Regions from separate parts of the Homo sapiens genome. Here region 2 is linked to region 1. The links are contacts of gene promoters, found by promoter capture Hi-C in blood cells and fetal thymus (Javierre and others, 2016). All regions are on one chromosome and are shown on one strand. The core of a region is centred on a gene start or on the middle of the fragment in contact, and the rest is flanking DNA. Distances in the headings are between cores, read along the strand shown.

What was found. Contacts are between HindIII fragments. The CHiCAGO score rates a contact against its expected background, and 5 or more counts as called.
Region 2: a contact is called between a fragment that was not itself captured here and the fragment with the promoter of NGLY1 in region 1, in 1 of 17 cell types (naive CD4 T cells). The highest score is 6.1, in naive CD4 T cells.

Annotation. Positions count from the first base shown.
Region 1 is chr3:25,782,081-25,784,797 of GRCh38, reverse strand. NGLY1 (N-glycanase 1) reads left to right here and starts at 1,355. Exons shown (of 12, transcript NM_018297.4): 1 at 1,355-1,538. The coding sequence starts at 1,408. RefSeq lists a silencer at 1,166-1,405 and enhancers at 1,716-1,765, 1,926-2,005. The HindIII fragment of the contact is 11,918 bases long and covers 1-2,717 here.
Region 2 is chr3:63,965,374-63,968,073 of GRCh38, reverse strand. All of the region lies in intron 5 of ATXN7 (ataxin 7), which reads right to left. Among named protein-coding and RNA genes, the nearest start is that of PSMD6-AS2, 37 kb to the left of the region's middle. The HindIII fragment of the contact is 847 bases long and covers 835-1,681 here.

The DNA of each region.
Region 1 (2,717 bases), core at 106-2,605:
CATACTTGGAAGGTGGTCCAAAGATTTACATATTTATTAAAAGCGTACGTATATTTGGGAGACGAATAGTCATTGAACTGGATGTCATAGCTTAGGGTCTTGTTCGGAGATTCTGGAAGAAAATTTCAATTCTTAAAAGTAAACAGATGAAACATCAAGAAATTTAAAAGAGGTTATTCAGGCAAATCACTTATCTTAAGAAATAAAGTCAAGAAAAATACTTCGTGAGGTTGAAAAGGAATTTCTGCAAAGAAGGAAGCCACTGGTAAAGTACACTTTCAAGAACATGGTGGGGAAGAGACTGGATTAAAGTAGTAAGGGATGCATCTTCTAAGAGGAATAAAAGACCTTGATCACATGATCTACCTAAAAAACAAGTCACAAAATATTACTTACCCTTACTGTGTGGGATGCAAATTTTTATTCCCTTCCCGCCCCCGACATTCTATAATATTGCGTAATTATTATGCATGTGTTTTACGCTGGTCACCACGCGGTAAACCGAATCCACAACCCATTATTATGTCGCAACCTATGGTTTAAAAATACACTTCCTTACAGAGGAATCATATACTAGTTGAGCTGGAACTTAGATTTTCAGTCATTAGCCAAATTCTGAAAAGAATCCATATAACAAACCCAGCAGAGTTTATAGCCATGGTTTTGTTTTTGACGTTTGTTGCTCCTTCCTTCTGTAGTCTTTCATCCACATCTATGTAGAACGTCCTGACAATCTGCGAAGAGAAGGCTCTAAGGTGGTTTTATTTGTGGGGAAAGGAGGGAGGTACATGCGGTTTCTCCACCTTAATAGCTGGATCAATTAGGCTGGCCCCGGAGCGCAAAGGGATCCGGGTTTCTGAGAGGCACGTGCCAGCACCATTCGCCCGATACCTCTAGACCAAAGCCGGCCTCCCCTCCAGCCGAGCTCCTCCGTCCTAAAGGACTCGACATCCCCCTCCTCCAGGCCCACACCCCTCAGCCCCGGAGCCCAGGCCCCGCCTCTCCCTGCGGAACCCCTTCCCAACCTGTACGACCAGGCCCCAACTCTGGGTCGAAGCACCTCGCCCCTGCCGGCCGAGGCCCCCCACCTTCTTCCGAACAGCCCCTTGCCCCCCGCGAAGGGGCAGCCGTAGCTCCCAGCCGAGCTCCCCCGCTCCTGGCCCCGGTCCCCGACCCCGCCCCAGGCCCCCGACCCCGCCCCTGCCGGCCGAAGACCCCGCCCCTGCCGGCCGAGGACCCCGCCCCTGCCGGCCGAGGACCCCGCCCCTGCCGGCCGAGGACCCCGCCCCTGCCGGCCGAGGACCCCGCCCCTGCCGGTGGCTGCGGTAGCTGCTGCGCGCTGAGGCGCCTGCTCAGTGTGGGACGCGGAGAGCGAGGGGCGGCGGCGGCGCCCGCTGGCGCTCAAGCATGGCGGCGGCGGCATTGGGCAGCTCCTCAGGCTCGGCGTCCCCGGCCGTGGCTGAGCTCTGCCAGAACACCCCGGAGACCTTTTTGGAGGCCTCCAAGCTGCTGCTCACCTATGCTGACAACATCCTCAGGTGCAGGGCAACGGGGTCGGACGGCGGGTACCGGGGTGGGTGGGCCGCGGCACCTTGTTCGGCCAGGGACTGGGGCGTCCGGCCTGAGCTTCAGAGGGCAGCGACGCCCGGACAGACCGGGACCTGGAGCTGGTTCTGCTCCTAACGTCCGAGCCCGCCGGCCAGGGGCCTCGGGACCCGGCCAAGTCCCACCCCCGCTCGAGAAAAGGAAGTTTCTTTGCAGTTGTGACTTGGCACCTGCAGTCAGGGTGCTGCGGGTGAACTGGAGTCCCGGAAGCGGGGCCGGGCGGAGGAGAGGTAGGAAGGCGTGCTTCAGACACTGCCGCTCTTCTCGTCGTTTAACGGCCTCAGATATCGGGACACAACGGTAACCGCACCGCGCGTGTCATTCCCCCTGCGTGCATTTTTCGAGCGGAGTGGCTTACATTTCCACATACTTATCAGAAGTTACTCACTGACAAAGTGATGTTTTCTTCCCATGTTGAGACTATCCGAGTACTAAAGCATAATGCTTCTGAAGTGGTGGGTTTTAAAATTTTTAATTTTTTTTCTGCCCACTTTTGTTGATTGAAACATTATAGTATTTTGAAGTTACAGTTTTTATATTAATACCTGGATTCTACTATGTAACATAACCCTTTAAGAATTCGTGGAGGTAATCGCCTTGGATGAGAGTAATTTCCTTCATTCTCCTGTCAGCAAAATTGCACTTCTAGAGGTCTAAGGGACCTTGCAGATTTTGGGAATTGGGAGGCAAGTTTGATTATTCATTTTGAATAAGTACCCACCTCAACTCTTCAGATCAAATGATCTGAAGGGACATGGTGTGGGGGGGTAGGGAAATGGAACTGAGGTTAAAGGAGAGCCACTTGCTTTAGGGGTGTTACCTCATTTATCAGGTCACCGTGATTAATTAGGTTCTCTGTTCCCCTCAGCCCCTGGTGCATTAAGTGTTTGGTATATTGTCATGAAGTCTAAAAGGAAATTCTCAGTTTCAAGGTTATAGGTTTCACGTGACCCAATTTTAGACATTAGTTACATGTGCAGTTTTTAAAATCCATGTCAGTAATATTTCATTTAGGCAATGGTAATGATTTTTAAAGTAAATTGAAGGGAAAATATATTGAGCCCTTATTTTGTGGCAGATGCTATGAAAGATGCAACATGTGGCCTGTTCAC
Region 2 (2,700 bases), core at 9-2,508, about 38 Mb before region 1:
TGTAAGGTTAGCAAAGACCTACCCCACCGTCCACAGGCTCATCCAGAGCTGGGCCCTGAGCCAAGCCCAGACTCTGAAAACTGCCTCAGAAAACTTACCCAGTGGAGCTTTCAGCTCCTGCGCAGAAGGGCTGCTTTGGAGAGGCGTCTTGCTACCTTCCATTCACAGAATTTGGTTGTGCTTCATTGCACACTTGCTACTGCAGGCTTGCATCATGATTTGGGTCTGCCCACCAACTCCAAATATGCTCCATGTTTGGGCTTATGTAACATTTGCTACTACTGTAAAAAGCACTTGAATTACAAAGGTCCTGGCAGATCAACAGAAAACAGGGGGTGGAGTCTAATTTCATCTAATATGGTCATACAAGGCGTCCTGGCTGGTGTAAATTAATCTTTCTATTGGAAAGGCAACTTGTCAAAACTGGGGAAGATGGAATTTATAAGTTTAACCTGCTAAAATGCAAATTACTTATATTTTGTGAATTTTTTTTCTGAATACCTTTAAACTGACAAAGCTACTACCAGGTATATTACAAAACTTACATGATTTATTTAAAAACCTACATTTTAAGTCTCGGTAGACCTAAAGGTCTTAAAGTTAAACATTTCTATAAAATACCTGCAGCATTTTTCCAGGTTTTATTTCCCCTATACTATCTACAGTTGCTAAGCTTTTCAAAAAAAGTTTATTATTCCTAAGCATACTTTTCCTTCCTAAATCTAGTAACAAAATATCTGAACCCACTTTCTGTGCATATTTGTAAAATATGTATAATTTCATATCCACATTTGTCCAGTTTGTTGTTCAATCACTAGAGGACTGACTAAAGCTTTCATACTTTTAAATCCAAGAATTTCTCTCACTGAGTGCCCCCTTGAAAACAGTGTCTTCCTGGCCTGTTTCCCTATCATCCCTATCACACTCCCTCTCTCTGGCCAATCAACAAATCTACTGTCAAATGACACAGAATGGGGTGTAATGGCTCACACCTGTAATCCCAACTACCTGGGAGGGTGAGGCAAGAGTCCAGGAGTTTGAGGCTGCAGTAAGCTATGACTGTGCCACCGCACTCCAGCCCAGGTGACAGAGTTCTAATAAAAACAAAACAACAACAAAAAATCCCCACAAGTGACATGGAAAAAACTGCCAAGTGATCTGAGTTTTATGATAATAATGACTTAGATACCTGATAGTTCAAAATGAACTCTTTTAAATGTCAAAAGAAGCAGCAAAAGATTCTTCTACAGAATCCTATCACCCCATACAGAATATTTGGCAAAAGTCATGAATTACATATGTGGAAATGATTTAGCCTGAAAGGTGCGGGGAAGAGTTCTGAGAGAGGCATGAAAACGGCTTCTATTAGACCAAATTCTAAATTGACTCTAAAACAGAAGAACAGTAGCTGCACTGCCCTATTTTCACAAGGATTCAGATCCCAACCCATGTCAACAATACTAAGACCCAGGGGGTTTTCTGAAACCCACTTTTTTTCCCCCAGATTCCTTACAGTAACGTTCATACAATCCAAAACTATGGAAGCCCTTAGAAGACACTAGAAGAACGCAAGGGAAGAGCCATCAGCAAGCCTTAGAAGCACAGGATGAGGATACATCTCCCAAATCTTTTTAAAAGCTCATAAGCGAAAATAAGAATTTTAAGTTAATTCACTGAAGCTTTTCTTAAGCTAGAAAAAAAAAATTCCATGGCTGTAAAACCTGATTGCCACAGGTCTTAGTATTGTTCACCCTACTTCACCTGCCCTCCCTGCAGGGGTAGCCAAGGAATCTCCTTAATGCCATCAATAGCAGAAAAGAACAGGGTAGGAGGATCTTTCTGGAGCTAAATCTCACTTCCCTATCACTGTACTTGTATGACAGAACACCAGAGTCCTTGCTGGCCTTCCTAGCACAAATGCTTGCCTTTCTAATATTCCCTTTCGTACACAGTGATTGTACGAAATACAGTGGGGAAAAATATCGTTATGAGAGTCAGCCAATCCAAGACAGTTCTAAGAATCAAGTCGTTCTGCAACCCTGTAAAAAACCAGGGTGAATTTTAGCAAATGTTCTTAAATGCTACAAACAAACGTCTATATTTAAGTTCACAAATAAACAAGAGAAAAACGAATTTTAACTTATTTTTAAGACCTACATCAGAAAAGGGATGAATGGTCGTGTATGCCAGGAAAATATTAATTTTGTACACATACACAGAAATTGAGAACAAAGCTCAGATTAAAATTTTAAACACTCACATGTGCCCCCTTAATGCCCTGAATAAAATGTTTAAGCAAATACTGCTTTGTTCTGCTTGTAAAGCATTATCACAATTTTCTTCAAACCGTTTCTCGATATCCTATCCAAATAAAGTTTATTTTGATATTAAATATCCCAATGATGGCTCAGACGTTAATTGTCTAGGTCTGGGGACATGGTCATATTTCTTTTTCCCTAAGAAAAAAATTAAGACTACAGACTAAAAAAATACTACAGACTAAAATAACATCTTAATAGAATAACATCCGTGCCTCACTGACCGAAAATTATATGTATCAGCTGTGGTTTGGATGGTGTACACATGTCAATTTTACTCTAGTGCACAAAGGGAGTTCTGAACTGTGCATTAGCCTATTCGCAGCAAACAGGCAAACTTGCAGGAGGCTAGGAGGAACACTCAAGGTTTGGGTTCAGGGGG